Regions from separate parts of the Homo sapiens genome. Here region 2 is linked to region 1. The links are contacts of gene promoters, found by promoter capture Hi-C in blood cells and fetal thymus (Javierre and others, 2016). All regions are on one chromosome and are shown on one strand. The core of a region is centred on a gene start or on the middle of the fragment in contact, and the rest is flanking DNA. Distances in the headings are between cores, read along the strand shown. Region 1 holds the start of PPP5C (protein phosphatase 5 catalytic subunit). Region 2 holds the start of IGFL2 (IGF like family member 2).

Region 1 (5,475 bases), core at 1,453-3,952:
GAATCTATTTCTGTCCCTCCAGCCTGGCTGGCGATCACCACCCCTCCTCACCTGTCCACTAATCTAGACTCCTTCCTGTCTTACCCTGGAGTCCAGTCTCTGCATGGCAGCCAGGGATCTTTTCTGAACACTAACTGAACCACAGCACCCCGCTCTTGAAACTTCCCATGGCATCGACCACCCCCAGGATGACACCCATATTCCCCAATCTGACTTCCAAGGTTCTACCTCTGGCCTCATCTCTCACTGGTCCTACCTCCCTCTCACGGCTCCCACCGGATCGAGCTTCTCCACACTTTGCTTCTGCTCCCGTTGGAGGCCAAGTCTCTTCCAGGGCTCCAGACCCTTCCCACCTCCGCCTTCTCCAGGGTTTTGCTGCTGCAAGTCCCCCCTCTCCTGTGCAGAATCAATTCTCCATCTCTATTGGACTCTACTCTCTTCCATCCTTACAAAAAATCCATCTTTCCCTGACACTGCATCTTCTCTCTTTTTTTTTTTCTTGAGACGGAGTCTGTTGCCCAGGCTGGAATGCAGTGGTGTGATCTTGGCTCACTGCAGCCTCTGCCTCCAAGGATCAAGCAATTCTCCTGCCTCAGCCTCCCAAGTAGCTGGGACTACAGGTGTGTGCCACCACACCCAACTAATTTTTTCAGCAGAGACGTCGTTTCACCATGTTGGCCAGGTTGGTCTCGAACTCCTGTGCACGTTCTCGTCTTACCACCCTCCCCCATTTCTCCACTCCCCTTCAGAACCAATACTCCTAACACTTAACATTTGCTGTCTCCACTTCCTCCCCTCCCATTCACTCTTCAGCACCTCCTGGCTGCATCACCCCCATCACTCCCCAATAACTGCTCCTGTCAACATCACTACCAGCATCCATGGAGCCAAAGCCAATGGCCAGTGCTTGCCTTGGCAGCATCGGACTAAAGGCACCAGCTCCTTGTTCTAGAAGCGCTCCCTTCTCTCAGCCTTCCCGACACCTTTCCTGGCTTCCTTTCCACCTCACTAAGTGCTCCTCCTTAGCCTCACCCTCTTCCATTTGGGTTCTGTCCTAAGTCCCCCCTCTAGACCCTCTTACTAGATGATCTCATCCATTCCCAACCATAGTTTGATCACACCCAAATTCTTCTCCAGTCCAGACTGGCCCATTTACTTAATGTGTCTTCTTGTAGGGCTGGGCGTGGTGGCTCATGCCTGTAATCCCAGCACTTTGAGAGGCCGAGATGGGCGGATCACCTGCGGTCAGAGGTTCGACACCAGCCTGGCCAACATGGCGAAACCCCATCTCTACTAAAAGTACAAAAATTATCTGGGCATGGTGGTGTGCGTCTATAATCCCAGCTACTCGGGAGGCTGAGGCAGGAGAATCGCTTGAACCAGGGAGGCGGAGGTTGCAGTGAGCCGAGATTGCGCCATTGCACTCTAGCCTGGGCAAAAAGAGCAAAACTCCCGTCTCAAAAAAAAAAAAAAAAAAAAAATTCCAAACTGGTCTTTGTAATGACTCACGGAGACCCTGCATGATCTGGCCTCTGTCCTAATCTCATCTTGTTATTGGTCTCCCCCTAAGTAGCCAAAGCCCCAGCCATGCCAGTACCCTTTCATTCCCCATCCCAGGGCCTTTGCACAGGCTGCTTTACCTCCCTGGAACACTCCTCTCCAGTTCTCCCTCTGTGAGTTTCAGCTTAAACGCCTCCTGCTCAGTAAGGCCTTCCCCCACTACCCTATCTAAAGTAGCCTCCAACCCTTATTCTCTACTTCATCACACTGCTGGTTTGCTTTCAAAGCACTCATCACAATTTAAGTATTTTACTTATTTACATGGTTTTTTTTTGTTTTTTTTTTTTTCATGTCTGGTTCACCTGCAAAATTACAAGCTAAGGACAGGGCCACATCTGTCTCATTCACTGCTATATCCCCAAAGTCAAGCACAGTCCTTGGCACATAACAGGTACTCAATAAATATTTGTTGAATTAATGAATGAATGGGTGCCCCACACTTGACTCTCAATATTCTAAGTGATACTATTCTTAAGGATCCCCACCCTTACTCCCAAGGCCCCCACCATCACATTCCTTTTCCTCGGGTCAGCCCAAATCTCCTACTTCCTTGTTCCCCCCATCTAATGATCCATTCCCCACCCCCACGATTGCCTTCTCTATTGGGGCTGTGCCCCCTCTACCCCCCACTTGGCGGCACCCACCCCAGGACTCCCCATTTGGTAGCGCCATCAATCACTCCCCCACCACATGTCACTGCCTGGTAGCGCCCTCTACAGGCCTCACGTTTGGTAGCGCCCTCATTCCAGTCCCCCTCTCGCCCCACAATTGGTGGCGCCCTCCTCAGTCTCTCCACTGAGTAGCACCCGCTCCGCACGCCACTCCTAGGTATCACTCTCCGAAGCCCCCTATGTCGCTCCTTGGCAGCGCCATCCTGGGCCTCCCCACGCCCGGTCACTTGGTAGTGTCTGCCCCGCGCCCAGGCTGCAGCTCCGCGTTGCTATGGTTCCGCGCGGGCCCGGCACCCCTCAGCCTGGGCCACTGTCCACCCTCCCTGCCAGGCGGGCGCACCTTTGAAGTAGTCATTGGCCTGAGTCTTGAGCTCCTCTGCCCGCTTCAGAGCTCCATCAGCCGGGGGTTCGTCCCGGGGGGGCTCAGCACACTCAGTCCTCTCGCCCTCCGCCATCGCCATGCCGCAAAGCGACCCCTACCCTGGCAACGGCCGCCAGCGGCACCCGGCCGAACCGTCGCGAAGGAGCGCCGGGTGGCCGCCGCCGCTGCCGCACAAGTGTCGTAAAGCGCGGGCCCTGAAGGCGCCCTTCACGCGCCTGCGCAGGTCCCTTTCGCCACAGAGCGCGCGGAGGACAAGGTGACCAGAGGTTCCCCAGACGGTACCCCTGGTAGAGAGAGCCAATAGGGAATGAGAGAAGGGGCGCGCGGGGAAACAGACCTGGTGTGGCCTCTCCTCCCAAAGTTACCGTGTTCCAAGGCTGTAAAAAGTTTCTCGGTTCTGAAAGTGGGATTTCCCCGCTGTCCTCTAGGGTTGGGGGGTGGGTTGTGAATGTCGCTGGCGGGTGTGGCTGTTTTGCAAGGCAGCGCCATGCCCTACGCGGAGCCGGACCCGGGCGTCGAGCCCTATTGTCGACTACCTGTGTGACCTTGAACAAATCTTCCCTTCCTCTCTAGGGTCTCAGTTACCCATCTCTGAAAAATTAGTGGTTTCTCAAGCCAAAAAGGGTCCAACCTTGAGGGTCAGTGTTTGAGTTTTTAACTGAAGGCACTCTGGATTTCAAGTCCTGAGCAAGGCTTAGAAGTGTGTTGCACCATCTCCTTTCTTCCTGTGTTCAGCTTCCCAAATCCTGAATCTTCAAATAAACTCTCCTGTTTGTGTTTTTACAGATTCTCTTGTCTGAGATCACAGCATTGATTGCATGCACTCTGCCTCCCTCCAGTTTACCCTTCACATTTTTTTTTTTTTTTTTTTTTTTTTGAGAGGGAGTCTCCCTCTGTCGCCCAGGCTGGAGTGCAGTGGCGCCATCTAGGCTCACTGCAACCTCCGCCTCCCGGTTTAAGCGATTCTTCTGCCTCAGCCTCCCAAGTAGCTGGGATTACAGGCGCCCGCCACCATGCCCGGCTAATTTTTGTATTTTAGTAGAAACGGGTTTCACCACGTTGGCCAGGCTGGCCTCGAACTGCCGACCTCAAGCTATCCGCCCGCCTCGGCCTCCCAAAGTGCTGGGATTACAGGCGTGAGCCACCGTGCCCGGCCGAGGGATCTTTCTAAGACATGATAAAACCATGGCACACTCTCGCTCCCAGGCTTCCATGGCCCCAGCACCCTTAGGAGAAAACCCAAACTCCTGATTAGGAGACCCTGAATAGTCTTAACCTCAGGCTGAATAGTCTAATATCCAGATTCCACCCCTTTGCCAATCCCCACCCGCCGTACACGCTTCCAGTCTGTCCTTTCTAAGCCCTCATGTAGCACTAAGTCCTGTAAGGCTCTGGATCCCCTCCTGGAAGCACACTCCTAAACCTATCTATCCCACTCCCAAACCTCTTGTTAGTCCAACCCCATCTCTCCTACTGGCCCCCAGCACAACCAACAATCACCCTAAAGGGCAGATATTAGTATCATCTCCATTTTACAGATAAAGACACAGACTTGCAGAGGTGTTTGACGAAGGTCACAACAACATAAGAAGGTGACAGAGCCAGGATCAGGAATCCCATCTAATTCCTATGTCCTTCATTGCCACTCTACTGCCTCTGTAGGTGCCAGAGCCCATCTTGGTGGGTTAGTAAATTTTTCTTTTGTTTGTTCGTATTGTTTGTTTTGGGGTTGGGGGAAAAGGAGCTGCCATAGTGGATTTGAATTCTGGTTTCGAGTCCAGCGGAATCCTTCCTGACACTGTGACCTTGGGCAAGTGATCACCCTCTTCTAAGCCTCAGTTTCAACCTCTGTAAAGTGGGGATAATAATTATCCCCATCATACAGGATTAGAGGAGAGTTCGACAACATGAGTACAGCATTTGTCAGGGAGCCTGACACAGAGTAGTACTTTTATATTCACTCCATCACAAATACTCAAAGTGGGCTGGGTATGGTAGCTCATGCCTGTAATCGAAGCACTTTGGGAGGCCAAAGCAGGCAGATCACTTGAGGTCAGAAGTTCAAGACCAGCCTGGCCAACATGGCAAAACCCCGTCACTACCAGAAATACAAAAATTTAGCTGGGCATGATGGTGCGCACCTATAGTCCCAGTTATTAGGGAGGTTGAGGCAGGAGAATTGCTTGAACCTAGGAGGCGGAGGCTGCAGTGAGCCGAGATCGCGCCACTGCACGACAGCCTGGGCTACAGAGTGAGACTCTGTCTCAAAAAACAAATAAAACAAAACAAATATTCAGAGTTGGGCAGAGTGCCTAGTGCTGTGATGGGAGGGGGCTTCCAAGGGGAGCTTTTAGGGGCACTTTACCCAATTGGAGCAGGCAGGGAAGGCTTCCTGGAGTAGCTGTTACCTAAACCAAGATGTGAAATATGAGTAGGAGGTAACCAAGTGAGGGGAGAGGGGAAGGGAGAGAGGCATTTCAGGCAGAAGAATAGGAAGTGCAAAGGCTTGAGAGTGTTTTTCTTCCCTTGAAGAGATTCCTATGTGCAACCCTGTATGGGGGGTTATGAGAGTGACGTACATGACAACAGACACACCCACCTGCACATGAGTCCATGGACACACACTCTTGCACACACATGCTCACTTAACTATGGGCAATCATGTCACACACACATTGGTACCCAGAATTATAGCATCAAGCAGTCCCACACATGTACACAGAATCACATCATACAGACATACATAGGCAAAAAAAAAAAAAAAAAATCACAGCACCTTCCACACTCAGAAACACAGAAACCCAAAATAACCAGAAACACACATAAGGCAGAATCACTTCACCCAGATACTAATATGCACTT
Region 2 (5,475 bases), core at 1,711-4,210, 200 kb after region 1:
TAAAATAAGCAACCCACAGAAAGACAAATACCACACCATCTCACTTGTATGTAGAATCTAAAAGAGTTGAACTCATAGAAGTAGAGAGAAGGGCAGTTACCAGAGGATTGGTGTGGGCAGATGGGCAACAGGGAGATAAGCAAATGATATGAAGTTACAGTTAGACAGGAAAGATAGGTTTTAGAGATCCACTGCAGGGCACGGTGACTATAATAAATAATAGTGTATTGTGGGCTGGACGTGATGGCTCATACCTGCAATCCCAGCACTTTGGGAGGCCAAGGAGGAGGGTTGCTTGAGCCTACAAGTTGGAGACCGGCCTGGGCAACACAGTGAGACATCGTCTCTATGAAAAACAAAATTAGCATGGTGTGGTGGTGCGTGCCTGTGGTCTCAGCTACTTGGGAGCTGAGGTGGAAGGATCACTTGAGCCTCAGAGGTAGAGGGTGCAGTGAGCTGTGATCACACCACTGCACTCCAGACTGGGCATCAGAGTGAGACCCTGCCTCTTAAAAAAACAAATGGTGTGTTGTATATTTCAAAATTGCTGAAGAGTATATTTTAAATGTTCTAGTGACAAAAAGTAATAAGTATATTAGGTGGTAGATATGGTAATTAATTTGATTTATCATTTAACAAGGCAAACATACATTAAATCATCATATTTTACCCCATAAATATACACAATTATTCTTTGTCAACTTCTTAAAAAGATTCCTAGCAGAAAACATACAAGTAAGTCTTAATGACCTCGAGTTAGGTAATATTTTCTTAGATATTACACCAAAAGCACAAGAGAGAAAAGAAAGAATAGACTTCATCAAAAATTAAAAACCTATGCACTGCAAGCAATAGCATCAAGGAAATGAACACAATCCACATAATGAGGAAAGTATTTGCAAATTATATATATGATAAGGGATGAGTATCCAGCATATCTTCTAAAACTCTTACAACTAAATAATAATAAAATAAATAACCCAATTTAAACATGGAAAAATCTGAATAAACCTTTTCTCAAAAAGGAATACAAATGGCCAATAAGCACATGGAAAAGACACTCAGCATTGTTATTTACCAAGGAAACGCAAATTAAAACTACACAGGATATCACACCCACCCACCCAGATGACTGTAATAAACAGGAAAATAGAAAATAACAAAGGTTGAAGAATCTGGAGAGAAATGTGAGCCCTCATACACTGCTGGTGGGAATGTAATTGATGCAGCTCTGTGGAAAACAGTTTGCCAATTCCTCAAAAAGTTAAACAGAATTACCATGTGGCGTAGCAATTCCACTCCTATGTGTACACCCAAGATAACTGAAAACAGGTTCTCAAGCAAATACATGTATACATATGTTTGTAACAGCACTATTCACAATAGCCAAATGGTGGAAACAGCCCAAGTGTCCATCAACAGATGAATGGATAAATGAATGCTGATACATGGATACAATTGAATTTATTCAGTTGTAAAAAGGAATGAAGTACTAATAAATTCTATAATGGGGATATGCCTTGAAAACATTAAGTTAAAAAAAAAGTTACACGAAAGGTCACTTATAAATGGTGTGATTCCATTTATATGAAATGTCCCAGATAGGTAAATCCATAGAGACAGAAAGCTGACTGGTGGTTGCCAAGGGTGAGGGTAGAGGGGAAAGAGAGGAACAGCTAAATGGGCATGCGGTGGTCGGGGGCTATGGAGCCAGGTGACTCGGAGGTAAAAAGCAATTCTGGAAGATGACTGAGCTACTCTTCCTTCAACTTGAGAGAGGAAGGAAGAGAAGGAAGGAGAGGAGGGAAAAGACAGGGAGGGGAGAGGGGAAGAGAAGAGAGGGGGATGTGAGACAGAGGGACACAGGGAGATGGGGAGGGGAGGGGGAGGGGGAGAGGGGAAGAGGGGGAGAGGTGGAAAGGGTGAGGGGTGAGTGGGAAAGAGAAAGAGAGAGAGAGAGAAAAGGGAGAGAGAGAAAAGAGAGGGAGAGAGAAAGAGAGGGAGAGAGAAAGAGAGAGAGAAGAGAGAGAGAGAGAAGAGAGAGAGGGAGAGAGAGAGATGGTTGCCCAAAAAGAAGTTAGTGAACACAGCAGGCATTGCTCATCTTGATGGAATACACACAACAAAACTCAGTCCACTGCCTGGGCTGCCCTTACTTACCCAGCACACTCCTGGGGTAGTCGGTCCTCATGCCTGAGACACTGAACCTCATGATTTCCTGGCGCTGAGAGCCCAGGAACTCCAGGCAATAGTGCCTGGGCTACAGGGCTGGGTCTGGTTCGAGGGCAGGATGATCCCCTCATCACAGTCCCAACAGATTGCAGATCTAGTCTCCACTCCTGAGTGTCAACTGGCACAACCACAGTCCAATATCTGGAAGAGTCAGAGCTGATGAGCTGGCAGGGGACCTCTGGGAGCCCCCAACCCTATCCACAGTGCTATAATCCTCCCTCCTTTCTTCTCCCTCCACTCACCACACCCATTCTCACCTATGGTCCCTTCTGAGTCTGAGCCCAGGAGTTCAAAAATAAAGATCAGCTGAGAGAAGAATGACAGTGATTCTGGGGTCACCAGATCATGATCATGGGGCACAAGATGATGTCTCTGAGTTTCTTTGGTTGCTGTAACAGCTCAGAGCAGATTTTGGGACTGACTCTGTGTGCAGGTTCTGGGCATTGGGCTTGGCAGGTGAGGAAATGCAGGGAGGGCTCTGGAAAGGGTTAAGCTTCTGGAATTTGCAGGTGGGGAAGAGAGATTGCAATGCAGTCAGAGAGGACACGGGTGATTATGAGGTGGGAAACCAAGAATTAAATAGGGAAGAGAGAATTAAGTTTGAGGTTCAGAGGTACATTAGGGATAACAGTAGGCATTAGCTCAACCTGGGGCAAGGGTTACCTTACCGAAGATTCTGGGCACCATGGAGCTTCAGAGCAGCTGATGGGACAGCAGCAGTGCAAATGGGTCAGTGACTTTATACAGGGACTTATGTAGGCTATGAACTTATCCACATTTAGGGAGGTGCCCAGAAGCACTGGCCTCTTGGAAAGGGTGGGGCATGAGAAGCCACAGAAAGCATAAGAAAAAACTGCATCAACAGCTTAGTAAGATGTTCCTGGACCTGTTCCAAGTGACTGCTACCTTCTCAGACCTCTCGAAATCTCAGAGTAAAGGCTTCCCTAGAACCTTTCAAAGCCGTGAGTGAGTGTCATTCTTTGAACTCTGCCCACGGCAAAGAGACTTGAAAGAGATTCCTTGGCTCTCACTTATCTGAGAGCATACTACTCACCAAACATCACAGCTGGTGATGAAACTTCATATTCATCCACCCTGAAGTTTCAAGGGGTCCCTCTACTCCCCATCTCAGTCCGGCTCCAGACCTGCACTATGAGAAACAAACGCACCCGTCCAAACCCAAAGAATGGACTCAGAGACACAGAAAACAGTGGAAGCAAGACTTTTAATGATGGTCTTGCAAGATTGAATGTCTGGTAGGCAGGCACACCCAGTACGGTTACAACAAGCTATTTATCCCCTAGTGCACAAGTCTCTCCCCTGGTTCCTCGTAGGCTAAGTACGATGGGGTCACGATCTTCCCAGACGTCGCCTATTGGTTGCTGGGTTGAGGCTTTTAGGTGTTTTCTTTAGGATTGTCTCACTGCATTTTGTTGCAGCCTATAATACATTGCAATCAAAGCCAGCTCGAGGGCTTTTCAAGTATTTGACTTATGACCTAGGCAGTCAGGCAAGCTGATAAGAATAGATAAAGTGAGCTATTTTGCTGGCTAGTAAACTTTCATTCTAGACTAAACTCTGGTTTGGGAGAGGGTAACTAAGGGGACCCCGACAAGCATGCACCAGCTATGGGCCTAGTATATTCTGTCCTTCCATAGTTTGTGGGCCTCAGCCTATCTGAGGTACTTTGTCTTGGAAATGGACCACCATATCCATTATTATAATTGTAGACAGCACTGTCTATAATTCTTCAGAGTCATTTAGGGGAAACTGTGAAGATGCAGCATAATCTAGAAAAAGAGCAGGGGCTGTAAAAACCCTGCCAGGGAGAACAGAAAAGGAACAGACAGTGATAAAATAGACATCTGGGATTCATAGAATAGATGGAAAGGCAGCCCCTTTTTGTTGTTGTTTCTGGAGTGCTTTGTCCAAGGAAACGCTCCTTCTGTGTTTCTTACTGTTATTTTATTGTCACCATCACTATTATTTGTGTCACTGGATACCATGTGGGCTATTATTAGAATGCGCTCCTGTGTTTTCCATTGACTTCCTTCCCATCCCACAGTGAGATAGGTGGGAGGGTGAGACAGAGATCAGGAGAGGTGTTAGGGCTTTATAAAAGTGCATTGTTAGTAGAAGAGTTCTGGACCTGATAAGTGAATTTAGAAAGGTTGTAGCGTATGAAACACACAGAAGTCAATTGTATTCCTTTATACTGGCAAGAACTAGTGGATACAATAATTTAAAGAAAAAAAATGCCATTTACAATACCCCCCTCCCCAAAAACTGAACTGGTATACTGTAAATCTAGGAGAACATATAAAGGATGTGTACGATTAAAGTATTCAAGGAAACCTTAAATACAGAGTGGTATATCATGTCGTGGTTTGGAATCTGTAATTTAGGTAAGATGCCAATTCTTTCCAAATTATCTACAGATTTAACACAATTCCAATCAAACCCAAGCAGGATTTGTCTGAGAGAGAAACAAAATAACTCTAGAATTTATATAGAAAAGCAATGGAAACTAGAATGGCCAACACAATTTTGGATGAGGAAAGATGGTAGAGGACTCACACTATCCAATTTCACAATTACTCAAGCTACAGTAATGACAACAGTGTAGTATTGGCAAATGGATAGACATGGATAGACACATAGATCAAAGGAACAGAATAGGTTCCAGAAATAAACCCAAACAAATATAGTAAATTGTCTTTTGGCAAAGATGTAAAGGCAATTCAATGGGGGAAAAGATAGTCATTTCAACAAATGGTGTGAGACAATGGGCATGCATATGAAAAAAAAAAAGAAGACTTCTACCAAAGCTCACACTCTATACAAAAGTTAACTCCAAATGGTCTAGATATGAAAAGTAAAACTACGTATTTCAAGGAGAAGGCATCAGAGAAAACATTTATATCTGGGAAAAGACATCAAAAGCATTATCCATTTTTTAAAAACAGATTGGACTTATCAAAATTTTAAAGTTAAACTTGATGAACAAATTGTTAAGTGAAGCAACAGACAGGCTACCAACTGCAGAAAGTGTCTGTGAATCACATCTCTAACATAGGACTTGAATCCAGAGTATATGAAAAACTCTCAAAACTCAAAGTGAAACAACAAACAAAATCATTAAGCATCGGCAAAATATCTGAACAGATGCTTTACAAAAGAGGACATACAGATAGCAAATAAGCACATGAAAAGTTGTTCAACACCATTAGCCATACTGGAACT

Evidence for each region. The method cuts DNA at HindIII sites, captures the fragments that hold promoters and counts their contacts. A CHiCAGO score of 5 or more calls a contact.
Region 2: the fragment with the promoter of IGFL2 here is called in contact with the fragment with the promoter of PPP5C in region 1 in 3 of 17 cell types (neutrophils, M1 macrophages and M2 macrophages); the score reaches 8.3 in neutrophils.

Annotation. Positions count from the first base shown.
Region 1 is chr19:46,344,314-46,349,788 of GRCh38, reverse strand. PPP5C (protein phosphatase 5 catalytic subunit) reads right to left here and starts at 2,702. Exons shown (of 13, transcript NM_006247.4): 1 at 2,572-2,702. The coding sequence starts at 2,692. RefSeq lists enhancers at 149-208, 2,455-2,584, 2,685-2,864. The HindIII fragment of the contact is 16,758 bases long and covers 1-5,475 here.
Region 2 is chr19:46,145,723-46,151,197 of GRCh38, reverse strand. It overlaps IGFL2 (IGF like family member 2), which reads right to left and starts at 2,960. Exons shown (of 4, transcript NM_001135113.2): 1 at 2,901-2,960. The coding sequence starts at 2,919. The HindIII fragment of the contact is 5,659 bases long and covers 2,728-5,475 here.